Regions from separate parts of the Homo sapiens genome. Here all the other regions are linked to region 2. Evidence: promoter capture Hi-C in human tissues and cell types (Jung and others, 2019). All regions are on one chromosome and are shown on one strand. The core of a region is centred on a gene start or on the middle of the fragment in contact, and the rest is flanking DNA. Distances in the headings are between cores, read along the strand shown.

The links. The method cuts DNA at HindIII sites, captures the fragments that hold promoters and counts their contacts. A contact is called where the count stands out against the background at its distance.
Region 1: a fragment that was not itself captured here is called in contact with the fragment with the promoter of GNAZ in region 2 in 1 of the 25 tissues and cell types used here (lymphoblastoid cells).
Region 3: a contact is called between the fragment with the promoter of PRAME here and the fragment with the promoter of GNAZ in region 2, in 2 of the 25 tissues and cell types used here (H1 embryonic stem cells and lymphoblastoid cells).
Region 4: a contact is called between a fragment that was not itself captured here and the fragment with the promoter of GNAZ in region 2, in 2 of the 25 tissues and cell types used here (IMR-90 fibroblasts and lymphoblastoid cells).

The regions. Positions count from the first base shown.
Region 1 is chr22:22,797,403-22,804,318 of GRCh38, reverse strand. It overlaps IGL. Among named protein-coding and RNA genes, the nearest start is that of MIR650, 22 kb to the left of the region's middle. The HindIII fragment of the contact is 4,650 bases long and covers 2,713-6,916 here.
Region 2 is chr22:23,067,220-23,074,191 of GRCh38, reverse strand. GNAZ (G protein subunit alpha z) reads right to left here and starts at 3,673. Exons shown (of 3, transcript NM_002073.4): 1 at 3,622-3,673. All of the region lies in intron 4 of RSPH14 (radial spoke head 14 homolog), which reads left to right. RefSeq lists enhancers at 1,210-2,091, 2,092-2,972 and silencers at 3,579-3,718, 3,859-3,998. The HindIII fragment of the contact is 23,611 bases long and covers 1-6,972 here.
Region 3 is chr22:22,554,495-22,562,249 of GRCh38, reverse strand. PRAME (PRAME nuclear receptor transcriptional regulator) reads left to right here and starts at 2,985. Exons shown (of 6, transcript NM_206956.3): 1 at 2,985-3,279; 2 at 4,670-4,705; 3 at 5,341-5,438. The coding sequence starts at 5,418. LL22NC03-63E9.3 (a long non-coding RNA gene) reads right to left here and starts at 2,907. Exons shown (of 3, transcript NR_027426.2): 1 at 2,843-2,907. It also overlaps IGL. RefSeq lists an enhancer at 2,774-3,068. The HindIII fragment of the contact is 17,569 bases long and covers 1-7,755 here.
Region 4 is chr22:23,411,524-23,419,179 of GRCh38, reverse strand. No RefSeq gene overlaps it. Among named protein-coding and RNA genes, the nearest start is that of LINC01659, 18 kb to the left of the region's middle. RefSeq lists an enhancer at 2,206-2,840. The HindIII fragment of the contact is 3,719 bases long and covers 1,419-5,137 here.

The DNA of each region.
Region 1 (6,916 bases), core at 3,788-6,287, 270 kb after region 2:
TATGTTGCCCAGGCTGGACTGCAGTGGTATGATCATACCTCACATCAGCCTCAAACTCCTGTGCTCAAGCAATACTCCTGCCTCAGTCTCCCAAAGTGCTGAAATTACAGACATGAGCCACTGGGCCCAGCCTGATGTTTTCACTTTTTTGTGTAAATTCACATTTCAATGTGACATCACTTTCCTTCTGTCTAGGGATATCCTTTACCCTTCTAATAGCAACAGTCTGGTGGTGAACAATTCTGTGAGTTTTTAAATGTCAGCAAAACTTTCATTTATTCACCATTTTTGAAAAATACTGCATGAAGGGGAATATGGGGAAAAGTGAATTTTAAAAATAGACCAAGATTTGATTAAGCTTTTCACCAAAGAAGATATACAGATAACAAGCACCTGAAAAGATGCTCAGCCTGATGTTGCTAAGAAAATACAAGTTAAAAAATTAATAAGAATCGCTACAGATCTATTAGAGTGGCTTTAAACAAAAACTGACAATAATATTGAGTGTTAATGAGGATGCACACAACTACAGTTCTCATAAATGGCTGGGGACATGTCAAGATCCATGTTGCCTCCTCAGGCAGAGCCCCATGACAGTCCCCTGAGGCAGGGGTGCAGGGTGCAATGGCACTCACTGGATGCAGTCATCTCAGCCCGACCCCTCTCTCAGGGCCGTTTTCCTGCCTGGGCTGTTCTGGTCTCTCCCAGTGTAGTCCCCACAGGCTGGTGTGGTGGAAACAGATTGATGACTTATCAAAATGGCCTCAATCATGGCCTGCATCTGCCTCTGCCTAAGGGTGTCTTGAGGGAGGACATCTGGGATGATGAAATTTGAAAGGGGGAGAGTCAACATTCTCAGGGTCAATGGAGATGACATAGGGCTTCTCACTCTCAGTCCTTGAAGAGGAAGGGGAGGGGGTATGTTTTGGCCTCACTTCTTGGTCTGTGTCACTGTGGCTCACCCATCCTCACCATCAAACATGTGGCTCTCTCCACAGTGATACTCGGCCTCATCCTCAGATTGGAGGTTGAAGATAATTAAGTAGCATTCAGCCCCAGGGCTGGAGCCCAATAAGTGACTGGGGATCCTGTTCCCCTTGCTGTTGCTGCCATTACTCTTAACCTCCATTATACACTAGGGGGACCTCCTTGGTCTCTGTTGATACTATTCACTGGTGTAGGTGACCTTGGCTGAGGCTCACAGCCAGGCAGATGCAGACGGGGGCTGGGTCAGCACAGACAGAGCACAGAGACCTGGAAACATATAATTTCATGAATGATGCTGAATGCACAGGAGAACTGGAAAGAATGCCACTGAGGACCAGTGCTGGGGGGAAATAGCAGTGAAAGGGTTTCCCTGAATTCTCTGGATGCTCCAACCTGTGGAGAATATGAAGGGCAGGAGGTAGAAGGAGACACAGGCCGTGGTGGGAGGCACTTCCGAGAGCTCTGATCGAGGCTGCCCAGTGGAGCCTGGACACAACCAGCTCCTATCTTATCCTCTTCTTGAAGCTCAAGAAGGAAGGAGCATTGAATCCAAATCTGTTCTCTATTCCCAAGCGTGTCTGTCTGAGCTCATAGCTGAGCCCTGGAGCTGATGGCCTCAGGGTAGTCATTTCTCAAAGGCAGGAGAAGGGCCAAGTGGGTGTCAGGAGTGGAGAGTGGATTGTACTCAAAAAGACTGGACCTGAAAGGAAACATCAGTCACACCCTTTGCACGTGAGCTCTACTGGGGGACTTGGAGCTATTAGCATCCCCAAACAATACACCCACAGTGCCTCCTGCTGTCCACAGGAGGAATGCCATCCTCCATGTATCACTAGATTATGCAAAACAACTACTTATGAGACCTTAATATATTCAGAGTCTTTGGTGAGTGTTTTATAGGCACAACCATGACTGGATATTTATAATAACCCTTCCTCAGCCCTATGCTTATGGCATAACCTCTCCTCAAGTTTACTGATGACAGAACCAACATTGAAAGATTACACAATGACAGAAGTGAGTGGAGTCAAGATTCCATGCAGGAGATGCACCTCAGAGCCTGAACTTCAGCTTCTTCCTGCCCTGCTTCCTTTCTTCCCATGAGTCTCCTCCTCCCACCTCATCCCAGGACCCCGGACCCCTCTGATCACAACCCTCTCTTCTTTAATCAGGTGCACTGTCTTTGATGGGTTCTGTGGACAGAGGTAGGGACACTTCCTCTGTTCACCCCATGACAGATAACAAAAAAGCACATGTCAGCAGTGACACTGGGACATCCAGATGTCTGCTTGGCTCCTTGTGCCAGTCATATCCCCAGAAAAATTTGGGATCAGGATTTTATTTCTAAGAAGGTCAAGGCTGTTGAATTAGGACAGCTGTAACACTAGATACTGAAGTCTTTTAATTTAATAAACATAATTGACAAGAAAGTATTCCTTAATTAATATTCTAAGTATATGTATTAGTTTTCAGACCTAGGACTGTTGAGGCTGTGATGAAAGTAATTCAATCACAACATGATGTTGTATTATAAATAGAAAAGACGTGTGAAGTCCTGCGATGATCTCGGAGACAGACAGAAGTCTCTATGTGCTGATTTCCTGGAGTTTGGTCTAAAGAGACAACTGAGATAAGATGAGGCCACAGGTCACCAATACGCCTGCTCCTGTACCTGGCTGAGCACATCACTCGCAGTTCCTCCACACGCTTACCAACCTAAGAATCCACTCCTCCTGTCACTGGGCATCTCAGGGTCTCCTCCCAGGACCCTGCCGGCCACTCATGCAGGCCAGTTCCTTTTCTTGTGGGTCCTGATGCAGCATTGGATGTAACTTGCTAAGACTATCCTGGGAGATGGACACATCACCAGAATGTGTTCCAGGAGAACTACAGCAAAACCACTTTGTCTTGTCCAGATTCGCTGTGATGCACATTACTCTCCCAGTTGCATCTCTAGAACTGGCCTTGTTTGTAAATTCCTGATTCTGGGAAGAAGCACCCAGTTCTGCAGAAACTGTCAAGGTGATCTGCCCAAAGTGAACAATCAGTTTGTGACCTGTGACCGTGCACAGTGGGCAGTGTGGAGGTTGAGATGGGCATGGGGGGACTGCCAGTCAATAGGGCAGGTCTTGTGCCACTGAGGGGAGGAGACCCTGGGGAGAGAGAGCAGGGGCATCTCCCACTGTTTTCCTGTAAGTCAGTCCACTGAGGCACAAAAGCGAGTTGAATAAGATCTTAAGATGCAAAGACCACAGCAGAGCTGGGGCTCAGGACAGTCAGGACCTGCAGCTTTAGGAGAAAAGCTGATAAGCCTAGTGTCCCAGGGAGACTGTCAGGGAGGCAGCTGCATTTAGCCCCACCCACTGGAGAAAGATTCTTGATTCCATGAATCAAGAATTTCCAGCCTGGCTGGGAGCCCATGGAAGCAACTCTTATCCATGTGTCAGGGATTTGCTCACTCTGGTGATGGCCAGAGAGCATGGGTGGATCCTGGATATTCAGGGAATATTGACAGCTGGCCCATGACAGAGACAATGTTACAAATTTACATTGTAGGCTCCCCCCCGCCGAATTGATATTGAAGTCCTCAGCCCCAGAACCTCAAAATGGGATCTTATATGGGAATGGGGTGGTTACAGATGTAATGGGTTAACATGACATCATACTGAAGTAGAGTGGGCTCCCAATCCAACAGGAGCGGTGTTGTTATAAAAGGGGGAAATGGCTGAATGCAGTGGCTCAGGCTTGTAATCCCAGCACTTTGGGAGGCTGAGGCAGGTGGATCACCTGAGGTCAGGAATTCGAGACCAACCTGGCCAACCTGATGAAACCCCATCTTTACTAAAAATATGAAAATTAGCTGAAGGTGGTGGCAGGCATCTGTAATCCCAGCTACTTGGGAGGCTGAGGCAGGAGAATCACTTGAACCTGGGAGGCAGAGGTTGCAGTGAGCCAAGGTCATGCCACTGCACTCCAGCCTGGGCGACAGAGCGAGATTCGATCTCAAAACAAAACAACAACAGCAAAAAACAAACAAACAAAAAACCGAGGAAACATGGTCAGAGACACACATAGGGAAAATGCCATATGAACATGGAGGCAGAGATTGGGGTGTTTGTCTGTAATTCAGGGAACAGCACATCCTTCCAGAAGCACCTGAAGCCAGGGAGATGCACAGAACAGGCCCTCGCTCAGCCTCAGAAGAAACCAACCCTGCCAACACCTTGATCTCAGATTCTAACATCACCTACAGATTAGTGGAGAAGACATTTCTTTTCTCTGAGCATCCAGTCTGTGCTACTTTATTATGGTAACCCTGGCAAAATAACACAGACGCCCCGAGGAATGCTGTGTTCAGAGAATCCCCTGTAGGGCTGGGCTCTTTGCAGATGCTTTGGTCTCTATCATCACAATCCTTTGGGGAGAGGCCTCCCTGTCCTGTGTTTTCCTCCCGTACAGTGCCCGAATTTCCTCTCAAGGAGCCTGTCCCAGCCCCACAGGCAGCAAATAGTGTCTCCTGTGACCTTAGACACCTCCCTTCCATGCCTGCCCCCTCGGGGCCCTGGCAGGATTTCTGATCAGACTCACAGGCCTCTCTCAAGGTTGTGGCTGTCAGCTGAGGAATGCGGCCCTGGGCAGGGAGGGATGGCCCAGGACCATGGGGCCAGAAAGCCTTCAACAGCCTTCAGATGAGCTTAGCAGCCTCTCCCCACCTGGCTGGCTACACCTCCTCCTCATGGATGAAGTTGCAATCCTTGGTTCTACAAACTCCCCCACTTTCCTCCCTGGCTGACTTGCCTGAAAACAGCTTCTGAGACATGGGGGGGAGTTGGCAGGAGAACACCTGGGGATGCTTGCCTCAGCTCCTGGGCCTCTATTTTAAATCATTTTAATCTCTCTTATTTCGAACAATCTAAAACCCTCGGCACTGCCTTTCCTCCATCTGAGGTCTAATTTTCATGAGCAAGGTCAGTAATAATTGCTGTCCACTAAGGAGCACTTGAATATGTTACGCCCTGTATTGAGCACTTTATGAATATGACTCAATTACATCCCTGCAGCTTTGTTAGGAAAAAAAGCTTGCTTTCTCTCTCCCAGTGATCTCTGCACAGACCGGCTTCCCTTCACCTTCTATCATGAGTGGAGACAGCCTGAGGCCCTCACTAGACGCAGATACCCAATCTTGATCTTTCCAGCCATCAGAAGCATGACCCCAATAAACCCTTTTTTTTCTTTACAAACTATCCAGCTTCAGGTATTCCTTTATAGCAACACAAAAGGTACTAAGACACCAGGAGGGGAGGGAGAGTTCACCTGTGCTTCTCAGGTTTCTTCATTAGGTGAGTCTTACCTGTGCCTGCGTGAGGAGGGTGAATAGGAGCTAAGCCACTCAAAATGTCCTTGGAGGACCAGCAGCATCAGCCTCACCTGGAAGCTGCTAGACATGGAGAATCTGGGGCCATACCCAGATGTGCTGAGGGCACAGCTGTATCTTAACCAGAATCCTCAGGGGATTTGTGTGCCCAATGAAATTCCAGAAGCTGTGGTTTAAACCACAATGGAAAGTCTCACTTTCTCTGCTTTTGACAACACACCTTTGTCTTCTACAAGCCCTTCTAAGAACACCTGGGTTTGGTGCTTAACTGCCCTGGTCTCATCAAACTGAGCTTGATTCCAGTGCTGGACTCTCTAATGATGTGCAAGAAATGTTTTAAGAGCAGACAATTTTAAAATCCACATGAGTGGTATGCTGGGAAAGGGACAAGATCCCAATGAGATATTCAGAGAGAAATAGATGGTTCATATCTTGTTCTCACTCAGCTCCCATTAGTATGGAATTTCCTTATTTCTCAGACATATGATCTCTGTGTTTCAGCCTCCGTCTGTTTTTCTCTTTGACTGGAACGTTTCCTGTGTGTGACCTCACTGCTCACACAATACCTGCCTAAATTCTAATCATCTGGAGTCAGATACCTGTACTCCAGACTTGTCAAGGAAGAGGTTTCTGGCCACCAGAATATTTGAAAATACAAAATTGTAACCTTTTAGCATTTATCAGTAAGTAACCGAAGAGTTGGGTATGGGATATTCAGATATTTTGCATGGAACAACATCCCCTCTAACTTCTGTACCACAAATCTTATCATGCGTGATGCTCTAACAAGACTAGAAAAAACAACCAACAAAAATGTTTCCTTGAAAGAAAACATTTGATCTGACTGTTGAGACAGTCATGTGATTTTTTCTTCTATTTTCTCTTCATCGTCACGGGTGTTTGTTAGGTTTTTTCTTGAGACGGAGTCTCGCTCTGTCGCCCAGGCTGGAGTGCAGTGGTGCGATCTTGGCTCACTGCAAGCTCCACCTCCCGGGTTCATGCCATTCTTCTGCCTCAGCCTCCCAAGTAGCTGGGACTACAGGTGCCCACCACCATGCCCAGCTAATTTTTTGTATTTTTAGTAGAGATGGGGTTTCACCATGTTAGCCAGGATGGTCTCGATCTCCTGACCACTTGATCCGCCCGCCTCGGCCTCCCAAACTGCTGGGATTACAGGCGTGAGCCACCGCGCCTAGCCTTGTTATGTTTTGATGATAGTCATTCCAGCAGCGGTGAGATGATATCTCATTTGGGTTTTAGTTAGCATTTCCCTGATTATTAGTCACCTTAAGCATTTTTTCACATACCTGTTTGCCATTTGTATGTCTTCTTTAGAGAAAAGTCTATTCAGGTCCTTTGCCCACTTTTTTTTTTTTTAATGCTAATCAGTTATTTTAGAGCCTTGTCCTCTATTCTTACACTGGATATTATGCCTTTTCAGATGAACAGGATATTAGGACCTATTCACATGAATACTTTCTCCCATTCTAAGGGTGTCTTCAATCTGTTGTTTGCTTTGCAGAAGCATTTTAGTTGAATAAACTCCCATTTGTC
Region 2 (6,972 bases), core at 2,424-4,923:
CTCCTCCTGGGAGGGCAGCTCCAGTCTCTTCTCTGCTCCAACCCTGCCAAGGTCTTCCTGCCTCATTGGGGCCCACTGAGTCCTGCAGGACCTGGCCCTGACACCCCACCCACACTCCTGCACCAGGTTCCAGCCACTCTGGTGGGGCCTCCAGGGGCCAGGGAGTGTCTGCTCAGCGCCTTTGCACCTGCTGTCTCTCCCCTGCTCAGCCACACCACTCACCCAGCACTTCTGCATGGCACTGTGTCAGTCCCCCACCCCCATCTCGTGTCCCCCACCTTCTGCTTTAGTGTTCTCCACAGTGCAGCACTTAGTAACATGTGTTACTGTCAACCCCTGCCCGTCTGGTGTGAGCACTGTGAGTGGATGCTACGTCCCTGCTGTACCCCTGCACCTGGCACAGTGCCTGGCATGCAGCAGGCGCTGGTAAATGTTAGCTGAACAAATGAATGGATGAATCGCGTGAGGTTCTGCTCCTCCGGCTCAGTCCAGAGGGCTGATGTCTCCTCCTATGTGCTCTAGGATCTGTCAAGCGGTCCCTGTTGGTTCAATCCTGTGAAGCGCCTCCCCTGGCGGTGTTCGCACGAAAGGGCCAAAATGTGTGGCAGGGGCTGGTGTGGGGACAGGGCAGGGCACTCTTGGCTTTGGGTATGGATGAGGATAATGAGGTTCAGAGAAAAAGGGGCTGGACCTAGGATGGTGGGACCAGGACCTGACTCCAGGTCTTCTGCCACCTAGACTGGAATGCTCACCTCACCACCCCGGAGCCACAACAGTCTGGGTGCTCCCACGTCCCTCTTCATTCTGCCCAGGCCGCAGCATAGCCTCTGCTCTGGGATTCTGCCTGGGGCTGACCCTTGGCATCTGCACTGACGCCTCTGTTCATTTCGCTTTGTGCTCCTTCCAGCCAAGCACAGTGCTCACAGGTGCTCAGAGGCTTGGCTACCCCAGGTTTCCTTGCTGGAGGGTTCGGGAGAGCAGCATGCTGACCTGCCTCCTCCAGTGTGCCCGTGCACCTGCCATGGTCAGCAGCAGTGAGAGTGCCTTTGCCACCACACACCGTCTTAAGTATTCTGAGGCTAGCGTGGGACAGACAGCACAGGGCTGCCTTCCTTGCCTCCAGGGGAGGAAGCCGCACACATGTGTTCACACACAAGATGACTAAATTCAGCATTCCTGAATTGCTATATTCAGCATTCCTGTCCCACTGGCCTCTCTGCGGGGGCCCTGGGCAGCCCTTGTGAAGTCAATCCAGTTACCTGCAAATTCCTGGAATTGTTCTAGAAGCTCCTGAGGGCCAGACTGAGACCCCACCCATACTCCTGCACCAGGTTCTGGCCACTCTGGTGGGGCCTCCAGGTCTCTGAGGTTCCTCCTGAGATTCTAGAAAACAAAAGGACTGAGAGGCTGGGGACAGAGGGAAGAATCCATTCCCTGTGTCCCAAACCCACAGTCACATGCCAGGTCCCTGCAACAGTCCAGGCGACAGGCACAGAGCACAGCAGCTCACCCTGCTCAGCACAGACTGCACACCCCACGAGGGCAGGCCCTGTTCTCGCTGCATCAACCTGGGCCTTGGCCAAAGCCAAGTGTGTGTTGGGTGGGGAGGGTAGGCACACTACAAAGATGAGTAACAAACAGCCCCTTCAGAGGGAGAGCAAAAACATCCCCAGAAATGAGGGAGCTGACTTAGGGGGGAAAGTGACACCAATTTCCGAGGGGGAGAAATTATGTCTTATTCACCTCCTGTCTCAGAAAATCAACGTCAGTTAGAGGAACACACAGGAAGACTTTTAAACCAGATGCCAGCATCTCCTCATTCCTAGAGAATGAGGCTTGCTCAAGGCGCATATTTTATCCAAGCACCGCCAGGCCATCCACACCCCCACTGCACCCCGTAGATGGATGCTCCCAGGCTGCCACGATTACTGCTCTCAAACATCCACATCCCAGAGGCACAGAGTCACTAGCTAAGCATCATCCCCGAAACAGGCAACTCAATCCTAACAAGGGGGTTGCCTGGGTGGTTACCCAGTGCCCTGGCTGTGCCCGAGGGAGAAGTGCCTGGAAGCACAGTCTCAGACTGCAAGGAGCCTTCCCCAGTCTTTAAAGCTAGCTCTTCTCCAGGCCCACCCCAGCTCATGGGGTCATGGAACTGCTTCGCTTTTACAGATGAGGAAGCCGTGGTCTCCACCATAGCCACAGTTAACCAGCAGTGGGGTCATTCCACTTCCCAGCTCCCTCAGCCCCGTGCAGCCCCCACCGGCCTTTCCCGCCATACCTCCTCCTACTCCCCAGGCATGCTAAGTGCTCCCATCAGACCTAACTGCCCAAGTGCCTCGGTCTATTCTCTCCTCTCTGCCCACAATGCCCAGCTTAGCTGTGCCCATGTCCTTCAAGCTCCAGTTCAAATGTCATGTTGCCCACGAGCTCACCTGACCCCCCAGCCCAGGACACCACTCTGAGGTCCCTCCCGAGGCCCCTGCACCTGCACTCAAGCGGGGTTGGTCGAGTAGAGACGTTTTCCCCTATGCGGTGGTCAATCAGTCCTGGGAGGGCAGGCCCAGTCCACTCCCACCCGGTGCACCCCAGCGTCAAGCTCTGGGGGAGTGACCACTCAATAAATATTTGCTTAATTGAATTTGGCCAAGGAGCCTTCTCCAGAGAGCTCAATCCCCAGGGCAGGGAAATCACTTGGGCAGAAAGGAGCCGGTCAGGGGCTCAGCTGTCTCCCCAAGCAAGACAGACCTCTCTACCAGGCGGGTCCCTCCACCCCAACACGGACTACGCGGAACGCTGGTCTCGCTTGGCATCATCCTCTTGTCTCAGTTAACAGGAGCCCCCATTCTCGGCCTAGGCCGAATCCTGCCATCATCACCCAGGAAGGCTCAGCACCGCCCTAAAGGCAGAGCCCCCTCGGATCGCCCGCAGGATACGGAGCGCCAGCCCTGAGGCCCTCACTCCCCTCCCCCAAACACCCCCACCGCCTTTTAAGGGAAAAAATATTGAGCCGGGAACGTATTACAATCGCAGCAGGTCGATACTCATCTCTTCCTCTAAATGCCTGTGAGGAACCTGCTCGCTGCAAGAGCAGTGACCGAGAACTGCTAGCTGTCCGTCTGCGGGCCCAGGTCCTCGGGCCCAGGCCTCTGGGGCCCTCTCCTCGGTTTCAGGCAAGGCCCTGCATCGGCTCCGGCCGCCCCTCCCTGATCCTCCCCCTAGGGAGACCCGCCTCAGCGCCGCTCCCGCAGCTCGCCTGGCCCGCCCGGGCTCCGCATCAGCCGCTGCTTGGGGGCGCCCGGCGGCCCCGCGCGGCATCCCCGGCGCCCTCTGTCCACCCTCCCGGGTCCTCAACCGCCCCCTCCCGCGGGGTCATCGGCTTGGCGGCGCATCCCTCCCCCAGCACCTGCCCGACCAGAGGCCGCCCCCTGCCCACCTCGCAGGCGTCCCCGCCCTTGGTGTCCCCCACCCCTGAGGGGCATCCCTGACGCTGCGTCCTGGCGGATCCGGGGCACAAAGGCCTGGGAAGAGTCCCAAGTGGGGGCAAGGTGGATGCCCCGGCCGTGCCCCCGACCCCTGAGGCTCAGCGGCGCGCGGCCGGCCGCGGGTCGGCTCACTCACCTCCGGGCCGCAGCACAGAGCATCTGCCGAGCTGCTCCGGGCAGGGCGGGGCGGGGCGGGGCGGCGAGCACGGGGCCGCGGCGCCCTCGTTCCGTACGACGCGGGCAGCGGCGCCCACGCGGGGACGTGACCGGACCGCGGGCGGCGCACACGCTCCGGCCGGCCTGGTTCCCTCCGCCCGCCCTCCCGCGCCGCCCGCCGCCCGCCGCCCGCCGCCAGTCCGCGGGTCCGCCCGCCCCGCGCCGCGCCGCCGCCGGCAGGGGGCGGAGCCGCGAGCGCAGCCCGTTGCCAGGCCAACCGCGGGCGGGGGGGTGCCGCGCGCCCGCCGGGCACCACGCGCCGGGCACCTCCGCCCCGCCACGAGCGCCGGCCCTCTGTCCATTGGGCACAGGCAGCTGACGGACGGGCCAGTAGCCCAATGGGGACGGACAGGGGCGGGGTCGCAGCTCCGCGCGCGCCGCAGTCCCGCAAGAGCTCCCCGCGCCGGCGTTCCACCGACTCCGCTGCGCTGAGGCCTGGTAGCCGAGCCCCAGGGGCCACCTCTGGCAGCCCGGGAAACCAAGCCTGAGCCCAGCCATGGTCCTGGCCCTCTTTACTGCAGCCAGTCCCGGCTCGCCTTCTCTCCACTCGGGTTCAAACCCAGTTCGGCCTCTTGTGAGCTCTACGTCCTTGGGCAACCGACTGACCTCTCTCAGCCTTTCTGTTTGCAAAGTGGGGCTAGTGGCACCTGCTTTCCTGGATTGTCTCACCAATCCTTCAGAACGTGTGAAAGGCCTATGCAAACCCTAACGATTTACACCGGTGAGGTTTGTGCAGCGATGGGAGGGAGCATTAGTCATCTCTGCCGCCGCCCCCCGCCGCCACCGCCCAGTGTCTAGGGGCTCTTTGGCGTCCCTGGCAATCCTGGCACACGGAAGGGTGGCCTTGGGAGGGAAGGAAGGGAGAAGGACCGAGGAGCTGGCCCCCAGCCCAGACAAGCGTGAGAGAGCCAGTTCAGTTAAGGCCACTGATTGGCGCTTTTGGGAAGCTGGTGGAAAGCATCAGACCCTCAGCAAAACGCAGCTGAACCCAGGCTGCAAAATTCTGTTTTCAATTTCAAAGCCTATCTGTGGACCTCAGGGCCAGGAGTCCCTCAGTTCCATGCTTAAAAGACTCTCAAGCCAGAGGGCCAAGACATGAATGCTCCTGTCTCTCTTCTCCATCTTTGTAAATCTGAAGCTTTGTGTATCCTAGAGCATCCCTGACAAAGTGCAAATGCCTTCCCAGCTAACGCGTTCCTTATCACCTCACACCTTTGTAAGGTGTGGATCATGCCATTCTTTGAGCAGCAGCCCTGGACCTGACCATGGCAGAGGTCCATGGAGCGGTCTCTCCATCATAGCTCTGTGGTGGAGGGGCAGGGGCATGTGCCTGGCTTTGCCAGCTGGACACTGTGGCATCTCAGCATCATCCCATAACCTCCCTAGGAATGTTTCCTCTTCTGTGAGATGGAGACCATTGCGTTACGTACCTGCAGGGTCATGGGCCACCTGTGAGGGTGCTGCCTCAACTGTCAGGAACAGGACGTATATTTGTTATGGGCATCATGGAGGCGAACTTAGTGCTCACTGGAGGTGTCCAGTGAGGACCAAGGGAATTCAGCCAATGGCTGAGGGGCTAGCTACCCTTTGTGCTTGCCTTCCACACCACCAGGCTGTGTCAGGCTGGACCTCTTGCCAGGAGGACCACACAGAGACCGGCAGCTGTGCTACCTGGCTGAGCCTCTGTTTCCTCTTCTGTCAAAAGGGAATGTAACAGACTGTGGTCAGAGGGTGGCTCTGAGGGTTAATGTTTATAGGAAATGCATATTAGCATGTCTTGGGATAGCCAGAGGCTGTTTCCACTGCAGAGTCTGGGGGTCAGAGTTGAATTGTTTGCAGAGGTAAGCCCACATGCAACAGTGAGATGGCCCTTTCCAGTGGTCCAGAGCAGAGGCTAGCCTGCGGAGGGGTCCACTGGGGCTGGCTGACACCTCCCTGACTTGACCTCAAAGTAAGAGAGGGACATCTCACCTGGCATCAAACCAATATTGTATTCATGCAGCAGTCACTTACAGATAGCCTCCTCCACCAGGGTATAGTTGTAGGCACAGTTCTAGGATTCAGACCGGCCCTTTTCTGGCAGACCCTCTGCCTGTAGGGCAGGGGCAGAAAGCAAACAACGATTGGGCCTTACAGTCATGTGAGGCTATCTGAGGAGACCCACTGGGGCTCTGGGGGCATGTGGAGTGGGGGAGCATTGGGCATTGGGCCAGCTTCCCAAAGGAAGAGATGCTTGGAATGAGGCCATAGCAGGCGTGGAGGTGGCCAGTGACATAGGGTGGGAGGGAAGTGAGTTCCAAGGCGGGGACGGTGCAGGACATGAAGGAGCACGAGGCCAGGAAGAACCCAGAGAAGACCAGTGTGGCTGGGGCCAGGGTCGTTGCCCATGCACAGATGCCAGCTTGGGGCAGTAGGATCAGGGACGTTGGCCTAAGAACTGCTCGAGAGTTTTAACATTAGTCTTTTAAATTTGAGAAGGAGGAGGAGAAGTTTTTAATTGCCTGTTTACAGTAGGCGTGGTCCCACAGACAATGTGAGTTGTCCTACTGGACATAATAAAATAACAAAAACATCAGTTAGTCAGTCCAGAGGAAGTGGGAGTGAGCACAGAAGTCAGTCTGTGAGGCTGAGTTCAGTGTACGGTCTGCTGTGGCTGTGAGATGGCAGGGAGACCAAGAGCATGTTAGGAGACAGTGGCGGGGCATTATCAGGACCCAGGGAGATGAGAGAAGGGGAGAGGGTGGGGACCACTGGAGGAAGAGATGGTGCTTACCAAAAAGATGGAGGAGCAGTTGGGGAGGTGGTCAGGAACCAGAGAATGGAGGGTACCAGAGGCACGGGAAGAGAGCATGTGGTAAAGGAAGAAGCTGTTAACCATGCTCCCAGCTACCTGGAAGCCGAGAAAGCTGAGGACAGAGAAGCACCCCTTGGAGCAAAGGCAGGCCCAGTGGGCCAGGAGTTCAGGGCACAGGGCCATGCAAGGCTAAAGCTGGACAGGTGGGTCACCTGCGGCAAGGTGGGCCCCAGATGCCATGTGTGGATGTGCAGTCCCCTAACAGGAAAGGGTGTGGCTGCGACCAGAACCTGGGTGCTGGTGCTCTGTCCTGAGCCCTCATTGGCTGGGAGACAACAGCTGGGGCTTTGCTGTAGCCAGAGGAAGGGGGCCATGGTGGTGACTGAGCCCACTCAGCACCTCCCCAACCCAGCAGGCACAGCTGGCTGAGGAGTGGCCCCTCAACATGGTGTCAGCACCCGCCCTGCCCCACCACAA
Region 3 (7,755 bases), core at 1,736-4,235, 510 kb after region 2:
GTTGGTCAAAGGCTACAAAATTTTAGTTATAAGATGGTAAATCCTGAGACTCTAATATACAGCATAGTAACTATAGTTAATAATGCTATATTATTAATTGAAATTTGCTAACAGAGCACACACACATTGACTGCTGGGGTGAAAGATGTGTTAACTAATTTGATTAATCATCAAACAAGGTATATGTGGATCAATGTATATGAATTGTACACCTTGAATCCATACAATTTTTATTTGTCAATTATACCTCAAGAAACCTGGAAAAAAATCAAACATTACAGACATCTTATTGTATTTTCTGTGTCTTATCCAAAAAAAGCACCCGGAGCTCAGCAAAGCACTTGATGTTTGCCCTCACACTGTTCCTCTCCCATTCCAGTTGTCGACCAAAAGGAACCATCAGACAAAAAACACCTCCAAATTTGTTGAATTTATTCAGGAATTAGAATACAAAATTATACGCTGGGCATGGTGGCTCATGCCTGTAATCCCAGCACTTTGGGAAGTCGAGTTGGGAGCAACACTTGAGGCCTGGAGTTCAAGCCCAGCCTGGGAAACACAGTGAGACTCTCTCTACCAAAAAAAAAAAATTTTTAATAAAGTAAATACATAAATTAGCTGGGCATGGTGGTGCATGCCTGTTGTCTTAGCTACTCAGGAGGCTGAGGTGGGAGGACTGCTTGAGCCCGAGAGTTGGAGGCAGTGGTGAACTACGATTATGCACTACACTCCAGCCTGGGTGACAAAGCAAGACCCTGTCTCAAAAAATAAATAAATATAAAAATAAATATAAATTTACAAAAAAAAATTAAAAAAGAGAAAAAGCATTATAACCTAAGATGCTCAGCTATGGCAAGCCATATATGCATCTCAAGAGGGGAGGGCAAAGGGAAGGTTGTATTGGCAAAAAAAGAGATTTAAATAAGCTGCTTGCAAACAGTTCACCGGTTATGAAGACTCAAAACCACAGTTGGCATCAGTTCATTGGTGGAGACGCTGTGCCTAGGCAGGTGTTCTTTCAAAAGCATCTTATCTAAATTGTTGTGATTCCAAAACAGGAATGTCTTGCAGGGCTATTTCGAAAAGTCCCGAGACAGCCAACCCTTTTTAAAAATATAGATGGGGTCTTGCTATATCACTCAGGCTAGTCTTCAATTCCTGGCCTCAGGGGATCCTCCAACCTTGGCCTCCCAAAGTGCTGGGATTACAGGGGTGAGCCACCACACCCAGCTTCCTGAGACAGCTTTTATCTCAGCCATGTAAGCATGAGCCCTTCCCTTTCATACCCTCAGGGTTTTACTTTGGGTCAACAAATAGTGAGTTTATTTTGGTATGTGCAACTTTCAAACACCCATCGCCATAAAAGAAAGGACCAGCCTTGGCCAGGCACAGTGGCTGATGCCTGCAATCCCAGCACTTTGGGAGGCCGAGGTGGGCGGATCATGAGGTCAGGAGATCAAGACCATCCTGGCTAACACGGTGAAACCCTGTCTCTATTAAAAACAAAAAAATTAGCCAGGCATGGTAGCGGGCACCTGTAGTCCCAGCTACTTGGGAGGCTGAGGCGAGAGAATGGCATGAACCCGGGAGGCGGAGCTTGCAGTGAGCCGAGATCGCGCCACTGCACTCCAGCCTGGGCAAGAGCGAGACTCCGTCTCAAAAAAAAAAATAAATAAATAAAGGACCAGCCTCGACTGACAGTCGGCACTCCGCAGGCATCCTCCACAATCCTCTCTCCTCTCTGCCTCTTGCCCTACAACCTGGCCATGCCATGATTCCTCCCTACCTGTCCTCCTCTGTGGACTTCATGACCACGCTCTGTCCTATGAGGCTGGACCAGGGTCATGTTCACTCACTTCTCTCCCCTCCCTGCCATTTGTTCCACTCCCCAACTTGTTCTCCACGCATCGATCTCAATGGAGCAACAGCAATCAGATGATGAAAATAAATAATGGTGGCCAGTCTTCAAATGGATCCCCTTTTCAATCCCGCACTATCCATCTGCTGCCTTCTCATCAGCCCTCTGCCCCAGTTTCTTTCCCTTCTCAAACTGGACAAGCACCGTACTCCGTGAAGATGTGTGCAGCCTGTTCCCATGCCCTGAACACCATCCCTTCAAGCTCCTCTGGCTGCTCCCTGCTCAGGTCTCAGAAAAGGAGAGCTGGGCAACCCTCCCAGGGAGCCGCCCGCCTGTGTAACTTTCAGTACCAGCCTGTTTGCTTTCTTGAGATAATTAGCTACAACGGCCACTTTAAAACAATGGTCTTCTTATTTTGTTTTTTGTTTTCACCCTAAACTTTATAAAGTCAGAAATCGTAAGTCCTTGAGCATCCACAGCCACTCAAGGACGAACCTTTGCTGAATGCCTCAAGCAGAGAGGGGGAGGCTGAGTCTCTGTTTCGAAGGTGAAAACACAACGGTTTTTATCAGCCCTGTTTTATGCGACAATCCCAGGTCGAATCTGGATCAATGCAATGACTTCCTTTGCATGGACCTATGTTTTGTTCGTGCATTCATCTGTGCAGCTGGGAACCCGCAGCTCTGTTCACTGGCATGGGGATGCCTCGGGGAATGGCAGGGCAGAGCCACAAAAAGCCAGCCTCACCACGCGGCCTGTTGCTCTTAGCCACCATGCCCATCATAGCCTGTGGCAGGAGATGTTGGGGTCCCCCCCCCCGACCCCTTTCAGGAAAACAGAGTTTGTGGAGGCGGAGTACTTCCCAGGCCTGACTGATAAAACAATTCAAAAGACTCAAAGAGATTCCTCGCCTGTCCCGTCCCTTGAAGGGCCTTGAACACGGGGTCCTTCCGCTTGGCTCCTAGCCCGTCCCTCTCCCCTTACCAGGAAAGGATCCTCCCCATCTCTGCAGAAGCCTGACCATCCCCCTAGAGGGCCTGGGAGGAAGTGGGTTTTGCATACAGTCCCTGTTGACTCTAGTGCCCCCTGCTGGCCCCAGACGCGAGTTCCGGCGAGGCTTCAGGGTACAGCTCCCCCGCAGCCAGAAGCCGGGCCTGCAGCGCCTCAGCACCGCTCCGGGACACCCCACCCGCTTCCCAGGCGTGACCTGTCAACAGGTCTGTATTGGCGACAAAAGGAGCAGCCCTGAATGTAGGGAAAGCAGGGCGGAGTCCTCTGCAGGCTCGGGGGAGGGGAGGGGCGTGAATGCGTGGATTTCTGTGGAGAGTGGAAACACGGGGAGTCGAGGGGAGCATGCGCGGGCCTCAGAAAGTTCTGGGAAACCGACTCCCGGGAGCAGGGAGGAACGCGCGCTCCAGAGAGTAAGTTAATTGAATCCCGGGGGGTGGTCTCTTCAGCCCGGGGGGTTACAGAAGTAGGTAAATCCAGAGATTACCCAGCCAAGGCCAGGGGCATCTTTTCTAGACTTGCGGGGCGGGGTGGGGCGAGAACTTGAGCTCAGGGGACCCTGGAACCGGCCCCTGCACCCCGCATCCCACTGAAGAAAAGGGAGGTCGCCAGAAGCACAGACCCAGGACAGAGTCCAGACTTGGACGTCTCCGTGATCCCAGAACACCCCGTCCCACACTCCCAGTCAGCCCCCCGCCTCCCCACTGCCTCTCCATTCGCCCACCGCACCCCCTTTTTCCACCCTGCCCCCACCCTACTGTCTGGTGGGAAAGGCCGCAGCCATCACGTATTCACCCATCCCCACCCCTCACCCCCCACCTTCTGACTTTCTTTCCACATCCCCACCCCCTCCCCCACTCTCTGCCTCTTTTCCCTCCCCCTCCCCAACCCTTTGTTTTTCTTACACATCCCCACCCCTCCCCCAACCTCTGTCTTCTCTCATCCCCACCCCCACCCTGTTTCCCTTCCCCCATTCCCGCCCTGGCCCGCCTTCTGTCTCCCTTCCCCCATCCCCACCCCTCCCCCCCTTCTGTCTCCCTTCCCCCATCCCCACCCCTCCCCCGCCTTGTCTACCTTCCGCCATCCTCACCCCTCCCCCACCCTGTCTCCCTTCCCCCACCCCACCCCTCCCCCACCCTCTGTCTCCGTTCCTAATCCCCACGCCTCCACCACTCTTTGTTTCCCTTCCCCCATCCCGACCCCCCACCCCACCCTGTGTTCCTTCCTCCATCCCCCCCCACTGTCTTTCTTCTCGGTTCCCCACCCTGTCTCCCTTCCCGCATGCCCACCCCTCCCCCACCCTGTCTCCCTTCCCCCATGCCCACCCCTCCCCCACCCTGTCTCCCTTTCCCCATGCCCACCCCTCCCCCACCCTGTCTTCCTTCCCCCATGCCCACCCCTCCCCCACCCTGTCTTCCTTCCCCCATTCCTAACCCTCCTCCCGCCCCCCCTTCCCCACCCCCATCTCCCCTCCTTCCCCACCCCCATCTCCTCCCCACCCCCAGCCTCCTCTGCTCTCCAACTTCCTCTCCCCTTTTCCCCTCCTCCTGCTCCCTTCTCCTCTGCTCCTCCCCCCACTGCCCCTCCCCCACTGCCCCTCCTCCTCCCAGTCTTTGAAAACAAGCCCCTCTCGACTCTCTGGGCGACCTCACTGGATCTCGTGAGATTTTGCCCTGGAAGGACTGAGAAACGGGGATTGGTCAGACCAGGCTGCCCAGCCCCCCGGTCCCCACCGCCGCCCCCCCCGCCCCACGCAGCGGCTAGGGCGCTTAGCTGAGCCATTGTCTCGTTCTTTCCTTCCAGCAACTTCGCGGTGTGGTGAACTCTCTGAGGAAAAACGTAAGTTCGAGCCCTGATTCCTCCGCTTCCCCGCAGGGTGACCTTGGGCTTGTGCCCCCAGCACCACCCCTGTCCCGGGTCCCTGTTTTCTCTCTGGAAATGGGTTGAAGACCAAAGAAAATAATGTGCGCCACTTGGGTCACCCCGGGCCGCCTGCCCCGGAAAATTGGCCCCAGTTGAGGAGTTGTGGCTGTAAGGATGCCTTGAACCGAGGCGGCGGTGCTCGTGGTTGGAGCTCTCCAGGGTGGGTGCGCATTTGTAATGCGGTGGATGCTCTGGGACTCGGCCCCTCTGAAGGTGCTGGGGGTTGGGGACGGCCCAGGCAGTGGCGTAGGCGTCCTAGGAAGGCGGGAGCAGAGGCAGAAATGTCGCTGCAAGACCGTAGTCAGGGTCCTTGACCACAGGGGTCACTTGTGACCAACCACATGGTCTGTTGTTCCTCCTGCCCCCTGGTTCAGCCCAGGAAACACTGGTGCTCAGGTTTGGAGCCAGAGATTTGCACTGAAAGGGCGGGATTGAGTCGCCAGTTGTCAGTTTCCTCAGCAGTATTTGCGGAGGTTTTCACAGGAGGCCGTTGCTTCGTAAATATTATACATGTATTCTTCTTTTTGGAGCATTTTGATTATTACTCTCAGACGTGCGTGGCAACAAGTGACTGAGACCTAGAAATCCAAGCGTTGGAGGTCCTGAGGCCAGCCTAAGTCGCTTCAAAATGGAACGAAGGCGTTTGTGGGTAAGAAGGTCCCCTGAGCTGTCTGAGGTGCTCAGAGAAGCCCTGTTCCCCTCTGTCCTTGTCACTCGAGCCAGATGGGAGCTGCATCCTGAGGTCCCTCACAGTAGACGAAGAGGCAGGAGCCGCTTTTATTGTTTCTGGTCATTTCCACAAAAGAGCATTTCACTTCCCGTGCTGTCTTTGTATGAGAGTCAACCCTAGGGTCGGGCACGGTGGCTCATGCCTGTAATCCCAGCACTTTGGGAGGCTGAGGCGGGCGGATCACCAGGTCAGGAGATTGAGACCATTCCTGGCTAACACTGTGAAACCCCGCGTCTACTAAAAGTACAGAAAGTTAGCCGGGCGTGGTGGCATGCACCTGTAGTCCCAGCTACTCAAGTGGCTGAGGCAGGAGAATCGCTTGAACCCAGGAGGCGAAGGTTGCAGTAAGCCAAGATCATGCCACTGCACTCCAGCCTGGCGACAGAGCGAGACTCCGTCTCCAAAAATAAAAATTAACCCTAGGCCAGGCATGGTGGCTCATGCATGTAATCCCAATCCCAGTACCATGGGAGGCCGAGGTGGGCAGATCACCTGAGGTCAGGAGTTCGAGACTAGCCTGGCCAAAATGGTGAAATCCTGTCTTTACTAAAAATAGAAAAAAAATTAGCTGGGCGTGGTGGCCCACATCTGTAGTCCCAGCTACTTGGGAGGCTGAGACAGGAGCAGGAGAATCGCTTGAACCCAGGAGGTGGAGGTTGCAGTGAGCCAAGATGGTGCCAGTGCACTCTAGCCTGGGCAACAAGAGTGAAACTCCTCCTCCAAAAAAAAAAAAAAAATCTTAATGCATTGTGGACCTTATTGCCAAAGCCACGATTACATTCAGAACCTTTCCCCGGGGTAATCAGACGCAAAAGCCCACACTTCCAGTGGTGTCAGAGAGTATGAGCTCCAGGAGGCTTTGATCTCACTGCCCCATGGGCTTGGGCCATTAGGGGTAAGTGTCGGTCCTGGGAAGTGAGCAACAAGATTGCACTGCCTCATCCTTGGGTGCCACCTGGGGAGATCAGGGAGAACATGCAACCTGGGTTGAAGCCGGGAGACTTGTGCTGGAACTAAAGGCTCAAGGACGGCACAGTGCGTTGGACTGTGGGACCGTGCTCGGGTGCTGTTGGTATCCACAAGCCTGTAATCCCAGCACTTTGGGAGGCTGAAATGGGTGGATCACTTGAGCCCAGGAGTTCAAGACCAGTCTGGGAAACATAGTAAGACCCTGTCTCTAAAAAAGAAAAAGAGGCTGGGCATGGTGGCTCACTCTTGTAATCTCAACACTTTGGGAGGCCTAGACAGGCAGATCACTTGAGGTCAGGAGTTTGAGACCAGCCTGGCCAACATGGTGAAACCCCATCTCTACTAAAAATACAAAAATATAGCCGTGTGTGGGGGCGTGTGCTTGTAATCCTAGCTACTTGGGAGGCTGAGGCAGGAGAATCGTTTGAACCCAGGAGGCAGAGGTTGCAGTGAGCCAAGATTGCGCCACTGCACTCCAAAAAAAACACCTGAAGGACCTGGTGCAGATACTTCGGGGGTCCCCACTGGGATTCTATGACTAGAGAGGAGGGTGCAGACCACCCACCTGATGAGCTCAGAGGCCACTCTGGCCTGTGCAGCCCACAAGGACCATAAGAACCAGTAGACAGGACATGCAGAAATATCTCCCCAATTCATGTCTGGACCCTAGGAGTCATGCTGGGCCCCAGTCTTTTCACTTCTCCCTTATACTGGGAGGAAGGACAGCACCTTTGTGCAAATGTGCCCCTGGTGCTGCTTCCTCCAGTGCCACTGGACAAACTGGCAGTGTGAAGCTGGACAGAGGAGTGTCACTGCCTCACAGGGAGATTGCACAGCTCAGAGATTACACAACTCACACTTGATCGCGGTTCCTCCTCCTCCCTTGGATCTCCTGGAAGCGGGGATCCCATGGAAGCTTCCCTAACTGTTGGACTTACTCAGTTTTCCTGTTTTTCCATGGTTTATGTGAAGCTTATCAGCCCTTTCTAACACTTAGATTGTTTGATAGGGAGGGAAATGAAACTCTTTCTAAACTCCTCACATAAGGGCTACCAATTCCTGCTTGCTTGGAGCTGAGCAGGTTCTTCCCCAGACAGAGTCAGGGACTTACAAGACTAAAAATGAAAATGACAGTGAACTTTAGATTCTCTGTGAAGGCTATTTGAGGTAATGAATGAGAGCTGCTGCGGCCTTTGCTGTGCCCAGTAGCTGCTTGATAATTAGGGACATTGACAATGACCTTTATTACTAATCTCAGTCTCCCGCA
Region 4 (7,656 bases), core at 2,029-4,528, 350 kb before region 2:
CAGTATGAAAACATCTGCAAAAGCCTGCTCTCTAGCTCACTCCTGATCCCCTGGGGCTTTGCATTTTTTTTTATTAGCAATTCTTTAAACCTAAATAACCTGAAATAACTTATTTATTAAAGTTGTATCCTTTGGTCCCTTCCTCCACGTGTTGTGTTGTCCTGGGTTTTAGGGCAGGGGCGGCTTCATGGAAGTATACTACGACCGTGTCTCTGCTCATGACAAACCTGCCTCAGGAGAGCCAGGGTAATATACACAACAGTTACGGGGAAGAAAAGGGATGAAACACCCAGATGGCATAGACAGTGTGATTGGGGAAAACAAGTGTGCTGTTCTTAAAAATCTATTATATGCCAAGTGTCGGTTCAGAAGCTTTATATGCGTTGTCAGCCCTGCAAGTTAGGGGATACTGAGTCATTCCCTCTTTACGATGAGAACCCAGAGACAGAAGCATCTTGTGCAAGGGCACTCGGCACATGGGTGAGAGGAGCTGGGGGTTTGAACCTGCGACCCTATTGACTTCTGTGGGCCTAGGGAGGAAATGCAATTTGAACTGTGCCCAGGCCATGGTCGGATTGTCTTAAGTGAGATGTGGGGGTGCTGGGGTGAGCGCAGGCTCAGAGTTGAGCGTGAGCAGCATGTATTCAGGGGCAGCAAGGAGGCCAGCCTGGCCAGGCTGGGGTTGCGTTCAGTGTTGATGAGCTGTTGTACTGGGTTCTGTATGGGTGATGGGAGATAAGTAAGATGTGTTCCTTGCCCTCTGGGATCTTGCTGCAGCTGGCGAGACAGACGCACAAATAGATGATTTCAGTGCTGTGTGGTAAGAGCTGTGATGAGGGTAAGTATAGGGAGCTGTGGGAGCAGAGCAGAGGGAGCCGGGAGCATTCCCAGAGCCTTGCCCTGACTGCAAGGGCAAGGTAAGCAGCGGCAGGCTTAGCGGTGGAAGGCAGGAAGGGCTTCCTGACAGGCAGAGAACAGCATGAGCAAAGGCATGTCCTTGAGGGCTTTTCTTGTTTATTCTCCTGGTCGAATGGATGTCAGGGTACAGTGTGGGCTTTATGGGCATCAGGGAACCTGTCGGGGGTTTGAACACAGAGGGACGGTGGAAGTCGAGTTTTAGGTCAGTTAATCTTGTGGAGGTGGGAGAACTGAGTCAAGCAAGATCAGCTGGGGAGGAGTCAGCAAACTTTTTTCTGTAAAAGGCCAGAAGGTAAATGTTTTAGATTCTGCGGAGCTGTTTGGACTCCGTGGCTGCCCCCCTATGCCTGGCCAATTTTTCTTTTATTTTTAGTAGAGATGGGGTCTCTCTGTGTTGCCCAGGCTGGCCTCGAACTCCTAGTCTCAATGATTCTCCTGCCTCAGCCTCCCAAAGCATTGAAATTACAGATGTGAGCCACCACGCCCAGTTGAAAATGGTTCTTCCAGGATGGATTTTTTTGTATGCTTATTCTGGAAAATAAAATGGAATTAAATTGGTGTAATCTACTTTGGAAATAAATGGGAGGAAAGAGGTGTCCTACCATTTCTGATGTAGGACAAAAAGGCATTTTCTTTTGGCTACTTTGAAGACTGAAACTAGAAATAGGGAAGTGTCTGATGCATATTTCTTAATTCCTTATGAGTAGCCTGCATAGTTCAAGGGGAACTATGGGAAAGAAATCTGGGCATTCTGCGTGTGATGAGACAGGAGTAGAGGGATGCATTTTTCTCTGTGTGAAGTGGGTGACTCACTGCGTTTAGCTAAATTCTCTGTGACTTAAGTAAATGCTCAGTCTTTGCCTTAAGCCTACTTAGATGGGATTGGGACCCTGTACTGTTCGGTCATTACTTACCTTTTTTTTTTCTTTTTTCTTTTTCTTTTCTTTCTTTCTTTTTTTTTTTTTTTGAGACAGAGTCTCGCTCTGTTGCCCAGGTTTGAGTGCAGTGGCACCATCTTGTCTCACTGCAACCTCTGCCTCCCAGGTTCAAGCAATTCTCTTGCCTTAGCCTCCCCAGTAGCTGGGACTACAGGCGTGTGCCACCATGTCTGGCTAATTTTTGTATTTTTAGTAGAGACAGAATTTCACCATCTTGGCCAGGCTGGTCTTGAACTCCTGACCTCAGGTGATCTGCCTACCTTGGCCTCTCAAAGTGCTGGGATTACAGGCATGAGCCACCACGCCCAGCCCGGTCTTTACTCACCTCTTGAGAGTCATTCTTGAGGCTGGGCACGGTGCTCACGCCTGTAATCCCAGCACTTTGAGAGGCCGAGGTGGGTGGTTTTGCCATTTGTCAAGTAGGGTGGAATTGGCTGCCTGCCAGTTTAAAGGGTCCTACTGGGAATAAAATTTGAATATAGAATTGGGCAGGCATGCTTTGAAAATACAGAATACAAGTGCCCTTTACTTACTGCTGCTTCCCCGCCCCAGGCAGAGGCTACTGCTCACCACTAGTGTAGGAGGACCAGTGACAGAGGTGTCAGAAGCTTCCCTGGCAGGACCTGCTCATCCTCCTGGACCTTGTAGTTTTGTGGAATCCACAAGGCAAGGCAGACAGATCCAGCAAACATCAGCTTGAAAGTACCAGGGACAAGCAGAGGGAGTAGAGGTCATGGGCTCTGTTCTCTAAGTTCACTGTTCACTTTGGAAGTCAAGGTGAGTACTGAAAGAGCAGCACGGCCCACCAGGGAGGCAGGGAATTGGGCACGCAGCACGCTCGGGCATTCTGCTGCACAAAAGGCAGGGGCTGTCCCCTCCCTGGCCGGACCTTCCTCCCATGCTCCAGGCACACCCTGCCTCAGGACTGTGGGACAGACTCCCCCTCCCTGAAACACTCTTTCCTGCAATATTGCATGCAGACTCCCTCAACCCTTGCATTGCATGCCTTTGCTCAGATGTCAGCTCCTCTGGGAATCCTCATGCCTCCCAGTTTAAAATGTCAGTGTGTCTCCTTCCCTCCGTGCTCCGGATTCCCTTTACTCTGCTTTACTCTCCATTTTTCCGGGGCACTCACCCTCTAGCATGCTGTGTTGCTCACTCATGCTTACTGAGAGGTGGAGGGCCTGGGCTCTGGAGCCAGGCTGCCTGGGGTTGAGTTGTGGCTTCACCACTTGCTACTCGTGTGGCTTTGGGTGGATTGTTTAACCCCTTTGCCTTGGTTTCCTTATTTATATGAACAATACCTAACTCAGAATTTTCATGAGGATCAAATGAATTTGTATTTATAAAATGCGTAGCATAACACCTGCCATGGAGTCAGTGCTATGTTATGTAAGTGTTTAATAAATACAGCTTCTGTTGTCCGTCTTCTTCCACAAAAATGGAAGCTTCATGAAGTCAGAAACCCTGTTTGTTTTGTTCTCTGATGGATTCCTAAGCGTTTTGAGCAGGACCTGGGGCAAAGCAGGCCATCTTTGCTCACCAAGTGAGTGACTGGGTTGGAGGAGGGTGTGGTCTGGGACGGTGTCAGGGAGTAGTGAGGTGTGGGTCAGTGCTGTGGACGGGTCTTCTCTGGGTCAGCTGGCTGAAGAGGCCGAAGCTGCTGTGTGCCAGTGTGTTTGCATACAGTCCGGGGGAGTGGGAGGGATGGTGCTGGGCTGGGGCGGAGGGGCTGGCTGCATTTGGAGAGTGCTGGGCCGAGTCCTACTGCAAGAGGAGAGAGAGGGTCTGGCTGTCAAGAGCAGTAAGATGCCTACAGGGCCCCGTATTTCCAAGCGCTCTTCCGTCCACCTCCTATCCTGGCCTGACCCCGCTTCACTTGGGAGAGCAGAGGATACCTTGTGCGTTCAGTGGGGAGGGCACGTCCACAGAGGCCTTGGCGAGGCTGCCTGCGTTGGGGAGGAACCTGGGCCCAGGTGCTCCAGGCTGTGGCTGGAGCAGGTGGAGCACAGCCAGCCGGGCTACACAGACCAGTCCCTGCCCACGGGCCTTCCCCCTCCCACCTACGGGCCACCCGTCTGCCGCCTTGCATCTTGCACCCTCCTGCCATGGACAGTGAGCCAGCCTGGCAGTGCCCTGCTGTGCTAACCAGGACCAGGAGGCCCGGGCCATCCTCCCTGACCACCTCACGGGGTCAGAGGACTGCACAAGAAATGGGTGCAGAGGCCGGCGCGGTGGCTTCGCCTGTGGTCCCAGCTACGAGAACAAGAGATCCACCTCAGGTGGTGTTCTCGGCCCGGGGCGACGGAGGGCGTCCAGCACCCATAGCGGGTGTCAGCCTTGGAGTTCCCAGCGGCCACCGCCAGGCACGGTGCAACCCAGCAGGAGAAGGGGTACTTGGGACATTTTTACATGCAGTCCCTGCGACTTCCGTTCCTCACCAGGGACGGCTGCCAGGAAGGGGACCGACTCCCCTCGGGACTCCCGGTCTGTACCAGCAGGGCCCAAGCTCCAGAGGGGTGGGGACCTTTCCCAGGGGCGCGGAGGCCGGGGTGCCCCTCCAGGACCTCCTTGGGCTGCGCCAGCAGCTCCAGGGCTCCGAGCGGTGGTAGATCTGGAAAACAGACCACAAAAGGCGTTGCAGAAACATGGATGTGACACTTTTAATTCCATTTAATTCCTCCACTCCAAAGAATGCAGGTCTTTCTAAATCATAAAACAAAGCCCAGAAGCCATCAAAGAAATAGCCTGACCACATAAAGTTCAAACAATTTATCTTTGCCTACTGCATGACCGAGTCGAATGACAACAAACAGGTGTGGGGGCGCATTTGTGCAAATATATTTGTGATGAGAATATCGTTCTCAGGCAAGTGTGGTGGCTCCCACCTGTAACCCTAGTGCTTTAGGAGGAGGCAGAAGGATCGCTTGAGGCCAGGAGTTTTAGGCAACATACTGAGACTCCATCTCCACAAAAACACACACACAAAACAACAAAATGGATGTTGCATTACTTACTATAATAACAAAAAAGGAAGAAGAAACCATAGGCATTGAGAGGGGCCTAGTTCAATAAGTCCCAGTGCATCCAAACAATGAAATACCATGAATTTGTGGGTTTTTTAAAATAAGGTAAATGTTGATGACAAACTGTTCAATGAAATGCACTTCACCTCGCTCATACAAACATTAACTGAAAATGGGTCACTTGCATGTTAAACATAAAACTATAAAACTTTAGGGGAGAAATTCCAAGAGAAAAAATGGAGCCCTACAACTAGGTAGAGATTTGAGACTTGACACCAAAAGCATGACCCATACAAATATGGATACATCAGAATTCATCAACATTTAAAACCTAGGCTCCATGAAACACTTAGCTTAAGAGGATGAAATGAAAAAGTACAGACCAGGAGAAAAGACAGGCATTCCTGGGAGATATTGCGGGTTCAGTTCCAGACTCCCACAATCAAAGCAAATATGGAAGTAAACTCAGTTACACAATGTTTTTGTTTCCCAGTGCATATACATGTTATGTTTACACTACAGTGTAATCTATTAAGTGTGCAATAGCATTATGTCTAAAAACCATGCACATTCCTTAATTTAAAAATACTCTCTTGGGCGGGGTGTTGTGGCTCATGCCTGTAATGCCAGCACTTAGGGAGGCCAGGGCAGGTGGATGTCTTGAGCTCAGGAGTTCGAGACCCGCCTTGGCAATGTGGTCCACAAAAAGAAATAAAATTAGCTGGGTGTGGTGGTACATGTCCATAGACCCAGCTACTAGGGAAGATAAGATGGGAGGATCGCTTGAGCCTGAGACGTCGACGCTGCAGTGAACCATGTTTGTGCCGCTGCACTCCAGCTTGAGTGACAGCACAAGATCCTGTCTCAAAAAAAGAAAAAAAAAAAAAAAACAAGAATATTGGTTTGCTTAATGACTTGTGATACAGAAAAAACTTTGCTAAAAAATGCTAAGGATTATCTGAGCCTTTAGAGACCCCTACATAATCTTTTTGATCTTTTTGCTGGTGGAGTCATGCCGTGAAGCTGATTGGCTGCTGGCTGATGAGGATGGCGGTTGCTGAAGGGTTGTTGTGGGGGGGGTTGCTGTGGCAGTTTCTCAAAATAAGACAATAATGAAGTTTGCCACATCGATTGACTCTCACAAAAGATTGATCTGTAGCTTTGTAATGCTGTTTGATAGCATTTTACCTACAGGAGAACTCCTTTCAAAATTGAAGTCAGTACTCTCAGATCCTGGTGCGGCTTTATTAACTAAGTGTATGCACTATTCTAAATCCTCTGTTGTCATTTCAACAATGTTCACAGCATCTTCCCCAGGAGTAGATTCTATCTCAGGAAACCACTTTCTTTGCTCACCCCTAAGAAGCAACTCCTCATCTGTTCAAGTTTGATCATGAAATCACAGCAATTCAATTCCATCTCCAGGCTCCACTTCTAATTCTAATTCTCTTGCTATTTCCCCCACATCTGCAGTGACTTTCTCCACTAAGTCCCGAACCCCTCAAAGTCATCCATGAGGGTTGGAATCCACTTCTTCCAAATGCCTGTTAATGTGGCTAGTTTGACCTCATCCTATTTGATCACAGATGTTCTTAATGGCATCTAGAATGGTGAATCATTTTGAGAAGGTTTTCAATTTACTTTGCCCAGATCCATCAGAGGAATCACCATGTATTGCAGCTACAGCATTATGAAATGTATTTTTTAAATAACAAGGCTTGAAAGTCTTTGTTCCACAGGCTGCAGAATGGATGTTGTGTTAGCAGGTATGAAAACAACACTTGTCTCCTTGTACATCTCCAGCAGAGCTCTTGGGTGACCAGGTGCATTGTCAGTGAGCAGTAATCTTTTGAAAGGTATCCTTTTCTCTGAGCAGTGGGTCTCAGAGAGGGCTTACAGTAAACCATGCTGTAAACAGATATGCTGTCATCCAGGCTTTGTTGATTATTTATAGAGCACAGGCAGAGTGGATCTGGCACAATTCTTAAGGGCCCTAGAGTTTTGGGAATGATGGATAAGAATTGGCTTCCATTTAAAGTTACCAGCTGCATTCACCCCTAACAAGAGAATCAGCCTGTCCTTTGAAGCTTTGAAGCCAGGCATTGACTTTCCTTCTCTAGCTAGGAAAGTCCTAGATTGCATCTTCCTCCAATAAAAGGCTGTTTTGTCTACATTGAAAATCTGTTGTTCAGTGTCACCACCTTCATCAGTGAACTCAGCTAGATCTTTTGGGTAATTACTGCAGCTTCTACCTCAGCACTTGCTGCTTCATCTTGCATTTTTCTGTTAGGGAGATGGCTTCCTTCCTTCATCTCATGAGCCAACCTCCTCTGCTAGCTTCAAACAGTTCTGTAGCTTCCTCACCTCTCTCAGCCTTCATAGAATTGAAGATAGTTAATGCTTTGTTCTGGATTAGGCTTTGTCTTCAGGGAATGTTGTGGCTGGTTTGATCTTCTAACCAGACCACTAAAACAAAACTTTTTGCATATCAGAAATAAGCTGTTTCACTTTGTTACCATTTGTGTGTTCACTGGAGTAGGACTTTTCATTTCCTTCAAGAACTTTTCCTTTGCATTCATGACTTGGCTAGCTGTTTAGTGCAAAAGGCCTAGATTTTGGCCTATCTAAGCTTTCAACATACCTTGCTGGCTAAGCTTAATTATTTCTAGTTTTGGATTTGAAGTGAGGGATGCACAACTCTTCCTTTCACTTGAACACTTAGAGGCCACTGTAGGGTTATTGATTGGCCTGGTTTCAATATTGTGTGTCAGAGA